Regions from separate parts of the Homo sapiens genome. Here region 1 is linked to region 2. Evidence: promoter capture Hi-C in 16 types of primary human blood cells and fetal thymus (Javierre and others, 2016). All regions are on one chromosome and are shown on one strand. Each heading gives the region's core, a stretch centred on a gene start or on the middle of the fragment in contact. The rest is flanking DNA. Distances are from core to core; before and after follow the strand shown. Region 1 overlaps LINC02320 (long intergenic non-protein coding RNA 2320). Region 2 holds the start of DYNC1H1 (dynein cytoplasmic 1 heavy chain 1).

Region 1 (7,308 bases), core at 485-2,984, 250 kb after region 2:
TGAGATCTTGGTGGGTGGGGAGAGATGACAGTGGGTGGGGTGAGATGACGGCGGGTGGGGTGAGATCTCAGTGGGTGGGGAGAGATGACAGTGGGTGGGGTGAGATGACGGTGGGTGGGGTGAGATGACGGTGGGTGGGGAGAGATGACAGTGGGTGGGGAGAGATGACGGTGGGTGGGATGAGATGACGGTGGGTGGGGAGAGATGACGGTGGGTGGGATGAGATGACGGTGGGTGGGGAGAGATGACGGTGGGTGGGATGAGATGACGGTGGGTGGGGAGAGATGATGGTGGGTGGGGTGAGATCTCGGTGGGTGGGGTGAGATGACAGTGGGTGGGGTGAGATGACAGTGGGTGGGGTGAGATCTCGGTGGGGTGAGATGACAGTGGGTGGGGTGAGATGACGGTGGGTGGGGAGAGATGACGGTGGGTGGGGAGAGATGACGGTGGGTGGGGAGAGATGGTGGGTGGGGGGGAGATGACGGTGGGGGGGGAGAGATGGTGGGTGGGGTGAGATGACGGTGGGTGGGGTGAGATGACGGTGGGTGGGGAGAGATGACGGTGGGTGGGGTGAGATGACGGTGGGTGGGGAGAGATGATGGTGGGTGGGGTGAGATCTCGGTGGGGTGAGATCTCGGTGGGGTGAGATCTCGGTGGGTGGGGTGAGATATCGGTGGGTCGGGTGAGATCTCGCTGGGTGGGGTGAGATCTCGCTGGGTGGGGTGAGATTGCAGTTGGGAAGTGCTGAGTTCTGTCCTCTGTGTTTCCTCTGAGGACTTGACCTGTGAGGGGACAAGGCAGGAGTGGCTGTCCCTTAGCCACAGTGGAAGCTTCCAGTCAACCTCTGTTGAGTGTCTAGACCCAGCCCCAGCTGCTGCTCCCCTGTGGCACTCCTTTGACTGCCACCCCTCCCCACACTGGCTGCCCCCCTTCTCTGGCCGTGCAGCTGGGGCAGCAGCTCTGTGCAGGGGGGTCCTCCTGCCACCCTTCTGCCTGCCTCCCTCCCTTCAGGGAATGAGTGTGGGTCTGTGGCAGGGGGTTCTGCAGGGAACACAGTGCTGGAAAGAGCCTGCCTGGTGTCTGTGTTGTGGTGGAGGGTGGAGGCAACAGGGTAAAGGAGGAATGCTGTTTCCTGTGTCCTGGAGCTACATGAAGCTGGGAAGGGAGGTGACGCCTGGGAGGGGTGAAATTCTCAGTGGAGTGGCTGGGCTGGCCTCTGGGACATTCAAACATAGACCTCCTTGCACTTCGTCATGGGTGACAGCAGATGACCAGATGGGGCCTCCACAGGCAGGCAGGGGCCCGGCTGTTTCCTCATCCCCAGCACTGGATGGCCCGGTGGTTGAGTGAGGGGGGTGGACAGGCGGCCCCGGGGAACATGGTCTGTGGGATTCCAAGTCTCTTGTCTTTCTGAGCCCTCCCCAGAATCACCCTTAATGGTTCATTCATGGCAATGTAGGCGTTTTCTGGCAGGTACCCCCAAACTCTTCCAGTTCCAAAGCTGCTTCCACATTTTTAGGTACTTGTTACAGTAGCACCCCCACTTGGTACCAATTTCCTCTTAATACCATCGCCTGGGAGTTAGGATTTCAACACATAAATGTTGGGGGAACACATTCAGACCACAGCACCCCCTTCCTTTGAGTTACTGGTATCTTTTTGGGTGAGCCATTGAGAGGCAGGTGGAGCTGATCCATGGGGTGCCTGTCCTAGCCTCATGCCTGGTGTCCCTAACCAGGCAGTCACTGGAGGGGGACAAGCCCAGTGAAGGAGGCCAGTGAGGCTGCTACCCAACAGCTGTGTGCCATTGGGTGTATAGTGGGCCTCTCTGAACCTCAGTCTCTTCTTCTGTACAAGAAGGGTAGTGAATCTGGCCTCACAGTGTGGTTTTAAGGAGTGAGTGGGCTCCCAGCATTCTCACAGGCAGTGTGCCCTGGCTCCTAGTGAGGTGAAGACTAAGTGGGCTTGAGGCCCTCCCTTTGGCCAGAGCAGCTGTGCTCCTGCCTCTTGGTGTTTGGGTTCCCCTGAGATGTTTGTTGGAGAGGAGTCTTCCAGACCTCAGCTCATCTCTGAGCCTACTCCCTCTCCAAACACCTCCCATGGAGGAACGGATGCTGATTGGATTGGTGGAAGCTGAGTCACTGTTTGGGCTGCGTTTAGCAGTAGGCGTGGCCAGCAGGTGTGGTCGGTGGGCACAGTCACTGCATAAAAGGCCCCACCTCCCCACTTCTCGCTTCCTGGATCCCTGTGCTGACCAACAGGAAGAGGGACAGGTCCCGTGTGCCGGCCTGGGCTATAGGCAGGGCCTAGGTGACCTGGCTGGTCCACCTAGGATATATCTTGGGCTGATGTATCCTTCATTTCCTTCTCGCTGAAGCCAGGACCTCTCTCCTGCAGCCTCAGCTGGTCTAGCAAAGGTTCTGGATTGGTCGTGGTGGCTGGTGTTGGCCAGTTGGGGCCAATGTGAGATTATGGGGTCAGGCAGACCTCATTGCATTTAAGGCAGAACTCAGCTGTGAGCTGTGTGTTGGTGAGGAGACCGTTTGGTCACAGAGGCTTTTTTTTTTAACCTCCATATACCCTTTATATGTGAGCACTGTGGCCTATGGTGCCTGAGAACCCAAGACACCAAGCTTTTGGAACCTAAGTGTAGGGCACTGCTAGGTGGCACTAGCTTGGCCTCCTCCGATGAAGTCCTCCTCCTCTTTCTGTTTGGCACAGCATCTCCAGCCAGGGAGCGAGCTGTTTTGGGGGGCCCTTTGCCTCCACCGATGCCCCCACCACATGTTCTCAGCTCCTCTCCGACCTCAGTTCTTCCCTTTACCTACACTGGCCCCTGTGGAGCTCCTACGTGCGTGCCAGCAATGCCCAAATACCTCTCCCACCCACCTCCGGCCGTCTACTCGACGTGGCTAATGATGTTGAAAATGCCCCAAAACTGCAGTCCTCGCCTTCTGTCCCTCCCCCATCCCCCACCCCTGCCCTGTTTCCCTGCATCCTCCTCATCTGAGAATGAAGGCAACGGAGGCAGCGTGGGGCTGGTGTCCAACACAGCTGCCCAGGCTTGCCCTGCTGCATCTGGGCGGTGAAAGGAGGCCCCTCCAGATAGGACCCTTCCCCAAACATTTGCGCAGCTGCAGGGTGGCAGAAGCAGCAGACAGACACCCTGGGGCAGGCTGGGATCCAGGGCGGCGGGGCTGTGTCCCAGTGGGGATTATTTTCCCATGTGTTTAAAAGTTGAACCAGCCGTCTAGACCGTGCTCCTCAGCACTGAATGAGAGGGCCTGATTTGGGGTGGCTTTCTTTCTGCCATCTGGACGTCAGCCAGTGGCTCCTCTAAGGTACTTAGGCTTTCAAACGTGTCCTGGTCCAAGTCGCTAAACTACGTCACGCTCTGATTCTTCACTCCTTTACTTGAACGCCTCTTGGTTCCCCTGCCCTCAAGACCTTTTAAAAGTGCAGTCTGACCATGCTGCCCCTTATGGACAGTAGTGCACTACGTGTAAATGTTTAACGACTGCTCTGGATAAAAAGCCCCGATTGGCAGTGTTTGCCAATTTCCATGGTGTAAATCTGCCTGTCATGGCCAATTTCAAACTACCAATCTGAAGTCACTGACTATGCCGTGGGGAAGAGATCAATAGCACATCGTCACACAGGCTCTACTACACAGACGCACCACACAGAAATAACCTCAACGGCAGAGAAAACAATAAAGTATAGTAAAATGTTAGAAAGTTTTGAGTATTTATTACCTGTTTTTGAATATAATTTAATCTTTAATAATGGCTGTGCTTAACAACTGATCTGCAAAATTCCTGAAAATGTAATAGTCTGCTTGTGAGCCGGCACAAGCACACCCTGCTACAGGGTCAGACCCAGACTCCTGGGACAAAGCCTAAACAGGTGGCCCGCTGCTGTCCAGACTCACCCTCCTCCACAAGCCACGCCCCATGCCAGCTCCCTGGGTCCACTTGTGGGGCCCAGATGGACTCGCTGGTCTTTGCCCCTTCCACCCTCTGTCTGAGCCTCCCTCCCTTCATCCTTCCCTTTCTCTTTCTCACCCTCTCTTTACCTCTGAGTATGTATGGAGTCCACTGCTATGTGGCAGGGCTTTGCAAAGCCGGGGGATGCAAATGTGGCCTCCGCCCTCTGGAGCTGGGGTCCTCTCAGAGCCGGGTCTCCAGAACCATATGAAACTTCCAGATTTGGGTGAATAGGGAAGACTCCTTGGCTAGAGCTGTGAGGCCCTTTCTCAGCTGCTAACCCTACAGCAGCCCCCAGATAGGGCCCAGGACCCCCTCCGTCACCTGGACAATACCCTGTGTGTTTGCCTGCTCTCTGAGCCCACCCTGGGGCATGCATTTCCAACAGCTCAGAGGCGGAGCTCCTGGGCATATTCCCTTCCCAGATGGCCTGCATGACGACTTGGGGAGGTCCAGGACGGCTGTCCTTGGTGATCAGGAGCATGTGAGCACTGGTGGGGATGAGGGAGCCCAGAGGGTCCTACTACACACCCTGCACTGTAATAGTCTGCTTGTGAGCCGGCACAAGCACACCCTGCTACAGGGTCAGACCCAAACTCCTGGGACGAAACAAAGGACTTTCCTCTGTGCTGCACTGTGTGCACCCCTAGCACTTCAAATAAAAGTTTGGCACCTTATACAGGGAGATATTTTGCTAGAACATGAACTTAAATGCATGCAGTATCATACAGGTCGAACAGGAAGCAGTATGGGGGTGCACAGTGCAGCCTCTGGAGACAAGACCTGGGCTTGGTCCTGCCTCTAAGAGTCACTGCTGTGTGACCTCAGCCAAATTACTCAAATACTCTGAACCTCAGATTCTTCGGCTGTGTAAGGGCAACAACAAATACTTCATGGCTGGTTGTGAGAATTACTTGAGCTGACACAAGAAACATGCAACAGTGGCTTGCGTGTGCTGAATGGGCAGGAAGTTTTCTGCTGCGTAATTTGCGATACTAAAAGCAAAGATGATTATTGAGCGCCCTCTGGTGACCAAATGGTACAATTACACCTTAGATTGCGCCAAGCTGGATACTTTTTTATGCGGGGCTCAAGGACTCACAGGCCCTGCTGGTGGTGAATTGCCTGCGGCCCCTTCTTGCTCCATTTCAGTTCCTTGGCCCCGGCGGTAGGCAGCCTCCTCATTAAAGGGGAGGATTTCACGGGACAGGCATCTTCACTACACCTGTCCCGGGCTCTTCAGAACTAGCTCCTGTCTCTAATGCTCGAGGGGGATCATGGTCCAGCTAAGGAAGCTGGTCCCTGCTGCAGCTGGGCTGGGGACTGCCAGGGATTCGGGGGCCTTGGAAACGGAGACCACAGACCCTGCTGTGTGTGTGTGGCGCCAGACCCAGTCTTCATGTCTCCAGGTGAACCGCAGAGCCTCATTCTGGATTTTAAAAACCTAGTTGTTACTGGGCCTGCAGGTCGGCTGTATCCCTGCGGGTTCTCTGCAGCCCCTGCCCCTGTGGGCAGTCATGCTGTGTGCCAGGCACTGTGCTGGGTGCTGGGGATACGGCACAGCACCTGGGGCTTAGGTTAGAGGGGGAGATGGAGGGGGATTTGGGCGGGGACTTCTGGAGTCCTGTCCCAGGGTGTGCAGGCAGTGGGTGTAGAGGTCTCCTTCCCTTCCCCTAGCGCTTCCTCATGCACAAGGCCTGTGCTGACACCTGGGTCACTCTGCCATGTTCCCTGCGGCCTTGAACTTAGTGACAGCCAATATTTACCAGCTCTGTCCACGGGCCATGCGTGGTAGGCCTTTCCTCGAGCCCTCGAGATGGCCTTGCGAGGTCGGTACAACCTCCTGCCAGTACCATCCCCTCCATTCTGCGGAGGAGGAATCTGACCTGGAGAGGTCATGTCCACGGGCCAAGGGAAGTCAGGGTCAGGCTCTCAGAGCCCAGAAGCTCTCACCCCTCGGGCCGTGGTTCCTGCTGCCCCTGCCCAGCCCTTCCCTTTTTGCCGGGAAGCCTCCTCTCTTGGCCTGGGCCTCATGAATTTCCTCCTGAAGGGAGTTAGGGGCAGGAATCCGGCGCCAGCAGCTTCTCACTCCTCCCAGGGCTGCCTGTCAAGCTGGGGCAGAAGAGGAGGCCCTCGGGGCACGTGCCTCCGGCGCTGCCTGCAGCGGCCTCGCCCAGGAAGTGCGGCTCAGCGGGAGCTCGCCCCTGTCCCTGCCTCCGGGGCGGCGCCGCCACGGCCTGGGAAGGAGGCCGAGCCCCTGCTCCCGCGACCCCTGCATGGGCGGGGCAGGCCCCAGGCCCCAGCTGAGACCAGGCTCCCGCTTTTTCAAGGAACCGCCGCGCTGGGCCCTTCACCCACGTGCTTTCCCTGCGGCGGCTCAGCCTCCAGCAGGCCGGAGGGTGCGCGTCGGGTCCCGGCTCCTCCTGCGCTGGGGACAAGCGGCCCCGCGCCCCCTGTCACCCCACGGAGGCCTTCACCTCCCCATGCCCGGCCGCGGCGGACCGGGGGAACTGGGGGCGGGCCGCAGAGGAGGCTCGGGGCACGGCGTGGGCCCAGGGCCGGGCTCCAGGGAGGGCGAGGAGGACGGCACCCCCCGCCGGCTGCGGTCGCGGCTCGTCCAGGTTCAGGCTTCGGCTGCTCCCGGAAGCCCCTGGCGGGGAGCGGCCGCCTGCGGGGAGATCTCGCGCCCCGGCCGCAGGGCTGCACATGGACGCCGGGACCTGCGCCTCCTCCAGCCCCGGCCCGCAGGGTCCTGGCTTGGGCACCGCCCTCTCTCTCCCCAGGGCCCAGCTCGAGGGGCTCACCCGTGGTGAATATGCGCCGGTCACAGAGCACGGGGCAGCCATAGAGGCCACACTGTCACCTCTGGGGACTGGACAAAAATGTCCAAATCCACGGAAAAATGAGATGCCCAAATAATCTCTCATAATTCTTCACGTTAACATTTTGCCTTCTTTTGTCACGTTCGTTCTCTGTCACTCTTTTTATATATGTACCTTCCCCCCACAACCCACTGGAAAGTAATATTCAGACATTGTGACACTTCACTTCTATATAAATTTCCCCTTAAGCATTTACAGCATTAAATATAGAACATTAAAGATAGAACATTAAAGCTCTGTATTAGAAACAAAGAAAGGTCTCTCATCAAATATCTAAGCTTCTACATTAAGAAACTAGGAAAAGAAGAGCAACAGAAGTCCAAAGCAAACAGAAAGCAGGACATAATACATATAAGGCCGGATGCAGTGGCTCACGCCTGTGATCCCAGCACTTTGGGAGGCTCGAGGCGGGCGGATCACCTGAGGTCAGGAGTTCGAGA
Region 2 (6,786 bases), core at 2,720-5,219:
AACAAACACGTGGGGTGTGGTAGCTCACACCTGTAATCCCAGCACTTTGGCAGGCGGAGGTGGAAGTATTGCTTGAGCCCTGAAGTCCCAGACCAGCCTGGGCAACATGGTGAGACCTCCTCTCTATTAAAAAAATGAGAAAATGAACTGGGAGCCCAGGAGGCCGAGGTGGCAATGAGCCATGACTGGGCCACTGCACTCCTGCCTGGGTGACACAGTTGAGACCCTGTCTCAAACAAAACAAAACAAAACAAAACCCTTTCCCCACCAAAAACAAACAAAAAACCCAAACTACACGCTCTCATCCAGACCAACCAACCTAGCAGCCAATCCCAGGCAGGTCATGAACAAGCTGCAGAGCAGACAAGTCATGGAAATGTCAGTTCCATCAGCTGCAAACTGAAGCATACCCCACCGAACGGAGATACACAACCAAAAAATGGTCCTTGAAGTAAAAAATGCTACAAAAACGTCATTAACATAAAATGGCTAGTTAAGTAATGAGCACCTATTTTGTCACCATGCTGTAAGCATACTATGAGGAAGACAATTTCCTACAGGCCAGGAACTATACAAAGGTTTCTCTTTTTAAAATGAGGAGCTATAACTTAATCCCTTTTTCCCACAAACTCTCCAATTCCTCAGTATCAAGATGAGTTGTTAAATTCACAACATTTATTCTATACTTTGAGTAATGCTGTACTTGATTTATTTTAGAGATAGGGTCTCACTCTGTACCCAGGCTGGAGCAAAGTGGTGTGATCCTAGTTCACCACAGCGTCAAACTCCTGGGCTCAAGCAATTTTCTCAAGTAGCTGGAACTACTGGCATACACCACCATGCCTGGCTTATTTTTTAATTTTCTGTAGAGATAGGGTCTTGCTATGTTGCCCAGGCTGGTCTTGAACTCCTGGCCTCAAGTGATCCTCCTGCCTTGGTCTCCCAAAGTGCTGGGATTACAGGTGTGAGCCACCGCACCCAGCTCAATGCTGCACTTTAACAACAAAAGTTTATGGCTAGCTGGGGTAGCTAAAACAAACAAACAAATAAAAAATATATATAGTTTCACATAAAAATGTTTCTATATTCAATTACAAGTGTTTGGATACTTCCACAAAAAAAGTGGAAGGAATAAAATAAATAAAAGTAATTTCTACTGTTCATTAAATTACATGACTTCATTGTTGGTGATCTTTATTCAGTTTAAATAATTCAGCTCTGTTGTCTACATTAATGCATGCCTATCTTTTCACTGTAATTAACTACTGGATGCACATATTTGATTAAATGTACAAATGCCAAAGCTAACTCATAAAAGCCACCAAGAAGAAAGCCCTCCTACCAAAAGTCCTGGGTCTCTACTTATATCTAAGGTGTCCTAGTGTAGCCAGGCTGCTAATAAGACAAACAGACCATCTATCATAAAACTGGATTAATTTAAAAATCTTTCCTTAGGTTTTTGTAAGTGAAAAATAAATTATAGACAGGTTGAATTGGTAGAAATACTTCAAGGATTGTTATAAATACAGAAATGAGGTAGGATTTCAATTTTAGATAGTCTCATTCCTTAGTCAACTTTCAAAAGTGCAAGTCATTATGGAGCCAAGATTTGGATACCTGCATATTTGTTTTGCTGAAAGAAAAAAAGGTACTCATAAGACAACAGAGAGAATTTGTAGTAGATATTGTACTACATAAACATAGTCCCCCCACCCCAATAATTTTAGCAACGTCCAATTTTAAGATGCCTGGAAAAAGCGAATTACTGGTGATCACTCTAGAAGCAAAGTATAAAACTTAAATTTTTTTTCATAAAAAGAGTGACACAAGGTAAAAAAAATAAAATCACTGATTCTAATACATAAACTATGCAATAAAAATATCAAGGATTAGCAATGGTCAAGCTACTCAAAATACAATTAACTTTAAAAATGCAGATTAAAATGTATTTTAATAAAATGACGAATATGCATTGAAAAATGACCACAAAGACATAAACCAAAAATGCTGACAGTGATTATATCTGGGTCAAACAATTCCCAGTGATTTTTACTTTAGCTGTATAGTACATTTTCTACAATGACTATATGTTTTTTGGAAAAAAAAAAGAGTAGATAAATTTTTTTTTTTTAACTTTTGTGGCTTCCACTTAGGAATACATAATCCCAAACATCACAGTAAACAACCCTCAAAAACATTAATACTCTAAATATGCTCAAATGGTTTATTTGCCTTGAACATTCCACGTGGATATAAGAAAAAAATATTCTTTTACACCCTGCTAATCTCTGGCAGGAAACCAAGGCTACAGGGAAGCATCTTCTGAGTAAGAATAGCCTTTGAAAGAAACAAACCATCAGAAACACAGTGTGTGTTAAGGATGGGGCAGACAGTACAGGGTCTCTCACTGAGAGAACCATACAGTTTTTTGAAATTTTAAGAAGCTTGTTGGCAAATATTTTTAGACAATCTCCAATCCCTAGAGGCTAACCTTGGACATCATCCTTAGGTTCTTAGATGGACACGCCACACCCAAAGTGGTTGTAATGGGCTACAAAGTGGTTGTAATGAATCCATGAGAAAGCCTGCCTGCAGGCAAGCCCCAGACTTAGATGAATGTAACCTTGCTGGTGGGCGATCATTATTTGAGGAGACAGCTGGAACACGCTAACTCTAGCCTCTTCCCCCTACTAGGTGCCTAACCTGAATCTTTTTTTTTTTTTTTAATCTGTAAAATTAGACTCAAATATTACAGGGTTATCATTAACATCATCGAAGCATTAAACAAATATGAGGTATGATCAGTGAAAACAAGCAGTGGATGGGGAGCTGAGACACTGAGTCTAGTCTCAGGACTAAGATTAGCTGGTGACCTTGGGTGAAATCACTTAACCTGAGCCTCAGTTTCCTCAGGTGTAAAATCAGGATACACCCGTTCAGCAAGGATGCTGTGAGAGCATCCACCTACAACAGTGATGCTCGCAGGCCCGGGGCTGGCACCGTCGCTCTGTGGGCCTCGGCCTCTGGGTCCCCACAAGGCAGGGCTGGGACACCCGCCCGACCTCCTCCCGAACCAGAACCCCGGCTGCCCCCAGCTCCGCGGGTCTGCCCCCGACACATCCCTCCCGAAGGCCACTTGGCTTGGACACAAATCGAAACCGAAAAGCTCATGTGACACTGGAGGCAGGGATGCGGCCTCGCCCGCTCTCAGCCCAGGGAGACGCTGTCTCCACCCAACTCGGCCATCTTGAGAGGCCCGAGCAGACAAAGCGACCCCATTGTTTTGGGTGACGGCAGACGGGGACCCCTTTCCCCTCCCCGCGACCAGGAGCGGGGCGCCCTGGGGGCTCCGGGCCGGGCAGTGGGTGTGGCGAGGGCGAGCCCCGGGCGCCGCGCCGGCCTCTGCGGGGCGTCTGCGGCCCTGGGGACCCGGCCGGCGGGACGTCTGCGGCCGCCGGGCTCTGCCCATCCAGGGGTCATCTGCAGCTGCCGGGCTCCTCCCATCCCGGGGACATCTGCGACCCCGGAGGACCTGGCAGGCCCTGCATTCCGCGAGGCCTGGCTCTGGCGACCCTGCCCTCCGCGGCCCCGCACCTTTGAGCGTGGAGCGCTCCACCAGCACCGTGTGGACCTGCGGGTCCGAAAGGAACTTGCGCATCTGCTCCAGGGCGCTCTTCTCCTCCAGCGCCGCCTCCAGCGCGGCCGGCGCCTCGCCGCCGTCCTCCAGCAGCAGCGGCACCAGCTTGCGCAGGTGCTTCTGCAGCACCGACACGTCCGCCACATTCTGCACGGCCGACACTTCCAATCCGGCCGAGCCGTCCTCGCCGCCGCCGCCCCCGGGCTCCGACATGGTGTCGCGCTCGGGACCTTCCAGGAGCGATGAGAAGGCGGCCGCGACTCAGCGAGACAGCCAGCAAGAGACAGAAACGGCCGCCGGAAGCCGGACCGTCCGCTAGCCCACCGCAGACTGAGGAGAGCGGGAGCCGGCTCCGCCCTAAAGGCAGCCACTGCCAGGTGGCCCCGCCCCGCCCCGCCGGCCGCAGCCGCCGCAGCCACCCGCGCTCGCTCGCGGCCTTAGCGTCACGGCGCCGCGCGTGCGCGGGGGGCGGGCCCGGCGATGTCGCCGCGCGCCCTTCTGGGACTTGTAGTCTCGGCGCTGGTCGGGGCCCGCAGCCTCCGCACTGCGAGTCCTAGGAGATGGGGACTTGGCTCAACGTCCTGGCTCGGCGCCCGGGCTTGGCGAGGTTGGTCAGGGGCTGCGTCTGTCTTCTTCACTGCTGTGGACGCAGCGAATAGCACACAGCCAGAGAAACTTTATAGTGAATCAGTGATGTTATTGGCGAGAGCTAACGTTTAGTGAGCGCTTAGCCTGTGCCCGGCGTTGTTCTAAGCCCCTTAACCTCTCATTAAATGTTCTCTCATTGAATGAATGAATGACTACGTATCAGGTACCAAAATATAGGCACGACAGATGTGTTATTAGATATAGACCGGGAGATTGAGGATACTTTTCAGAGGGGGAGGAGATGAGGGGCGTGCTCAGAGAGTCCCATTGCCAGGCTGGAAACGGACAGCTGGGGAGGGGGCCTTCGGGGCAGTGTAAGGTTAAGCCAGGAATGACACCTTCACTGTACGTAAAGCCAAGCTGTGATGGGATCTGGTTCCTAATGACAAAAATCATTGTCCCCGAGGACGCTGTGAGGACCAAGAGGGAGACCTACTGAGAACAGCTACCTCCAGCAATGGCTCTCCTCCAGCCCCCTAGAGCTGGCACTGTCATTCTGTGGGCCTCAGTATCTGGGTCCGTACAAGGCAGGGGCTGGGTTGCCTGCCCACCAAGTTTCCCCCTAGTTCGGACCCACCACGACCTCCTCCCCTACACCATGACTACATAAGAGCCAGAATCCAGGCTGCCCAGCTGGGTGCGGTGGCTCACACCTGTAATCCTAGCATTTTGAGAGGCTGAGATGGGAGGATTGCTTGAGGCCAGAAGTTCCAAGACCAGCCTGGTCAACCTAGCGAGACCCTATATCTATGTGTATTTAAAAATTAAGAATTTTGTAAAATAATAAAAATAATAGAATCCAGGCTGCCCATCTTTGTAGTTTAGAGATGGTAGGTTCTTCTAAGGGGTAGTAATTGGCCTTTGAAAGTTCACATTCATAACTTCTTTCTTAAGTTGGGTGGAGAGAGGGAAGCCAATGGCGTTTTTTTTTTTTTTGGTTTTTTTGTTTTTTTTAAACATCAAAGTGCACTGTCAGAGTGCCGAGTCCTGATTGGTGGAATGATGATGGTATGATTTGATTCTCCCAAATCATCTTTGAAAAACTGTGAAACATACAATAAGCTTATTCCTTGCCTAATTACCGGTTGCTGGGTCCCAGGGGGTTGCTGGAACACGGAGACTAATCAGATGATTCTTGTCTTTAAGGAGCATGTGGAAGAGGGGACAGATGAATACCCCATCTTCCTGCTCTCCATCAGTCCGCCCTGGTGTGATGTGCCTAAGCAGTTCCGAGTAATCTTCCTGGAAAAAATAAATAGGCAACTGCGATGAGTTTGTGCAAGGATCCTAATGGTAATGAATAATAATAACACACCACTGACAGCGAACGCTGAGTGTTCACTGCGTGCTAGGCACCATGCAGAGGGTTTCCCCTCACATGTACTTTAGGGGTAGAAAGAGGGACAAAGAGGAAAGTCTATTAGGTGCAGATCTGTGAACTCTGAATAGGCCATCCACCATCTGAGACTCAGAAACCTGCAGGGACCTGGCCGATGGGCAGGCTGCATGCTGGCTGCACCATGAGTCAGCACCAGACTGGGAGACGCAGCCACTCAGGGATCCAAGGGACTCAAACATCTGCAACCTGGCCCCAGGCCAAGAGAACAAACTGCAGGCTCCGGATTTGCGGCCCTGTAGGATAGGCTCAAAATGAAACATGTTTGTTATTTCTAAGTGGATGGGAACTGAAAGAACCCGAACAATCAGTGTACAAGGATTCATGAATGGACCAAACATGCTTGCTTTTTGTTCTTGAAAGATGTTTGTTGTATTTAATATATAACGAGAAGAGTGGTCAACGCTGACTGGGTGCTGAGCACTTTAAGTGCATTACCTGGGTGGCTGGCTGGGCTGTGCCAGGGTTGAAGGGTGTGGGGAGCTTCTTTCAAGGTGCCCCTTCTGCCTCCTGGCACAGGACTCTGGCTCCAGCACACCCCAAGCTGACCCTGGTGGGGGTAGGGCCCCTCACCCAAACCTGGCCTCTCCCGTCTCTTGTTCTGCTGCCTCAGCTTTCTCCTGTCTGTGGTAGAGTCTGCTTGGACAGACTCTGGGCAGGGCAGGGGGCAGGGCAAGCTGGAGAGAGAATTCGTTCTAGGTTGATGTGGGATGATAGTGGCTGGTAGGGCGCTTGTATCCTATTGGAAATCCATGATGAGATCCCATTCATTCCCACCCTTCTCTTAACAATGTCTCCTTAAGTCCAAGTCTCAAGTCGGGTGCCCAGTTTCATACCATCCTTCCTCTCCCTCTCACAACCTTCGGGCAGGACCAACCCCCTCAGAGGAACCCCTGCTGCCCCAGCCCTTTCAGGCTCTGTGCCCAGGATCTCCCCTCCACTCCCTGGAAATTCCACATTTGGCCAGGTGTGGTGGTGCACACCCTTGTTCCCAGCTACTCAAAAGGTTGAGGTGGAGGTCGAGGCTGCAGTGAGCTGTGATCTCACTACTGCACTCCAGCCTGTGCAAGAGAGTGAGACCCCGTCTCTAAATAATAATAATAAT

What was found. The method cuts DNA at HindIII sites, captures the fragments that hold promoters and counts their contacts. A CHiCAGO score of 5 or more calls a contact.
Region 1: a contact is called between a fragment that was not itself captured here and the fragment with the promoter of DYNC1H1 in region 2, in 14 of 17 cell types (total CD8 T cells, total B cells, naive CD8 T cells and 11 more). The highest score is 9.0, in total CD8 T cells.

The regions. Positions count from the first base shown.
Region 1 is chr14:101,705,181-101,712,488 of GRCh38, reverse strand. The region is part of intron 1 of LINC02320 (long intergenic non-protein coding RNA 2320); the gene reads left to right. Among named protein-coding and RNA genes, the nearest start is that of LINC00239, 22 kb to the left of the region's middle. RefSeq lists an enhancer at 4,030-4,800 and silencers at 6,207-6,476, 6,487-6,606, 6,687-6,746. The HindIII fragment of the contact is 1,803 bases long and covers 833-2,635 here.
Region 2 is chr14:101,961,756-101,968,541 of GRCh38, reverse strand. DYNC1H1 (dynein cytoplasmic 1 heavy chain 1) reads right to left here and starts at 3,969. Exons shown (of 78, transcript NM_001376.5): 1 at 3,595-3,969. The coding sequence starts at 3,850. RefSeq lists silencers at 3,277-3,486, 3,977-4,136 and enhancers at 3,012-3,621, 3,622-4,232, 4,277-4,416. The HindIII fragment of the contact is 2,903 bases long and covers 2,447-5,349 here.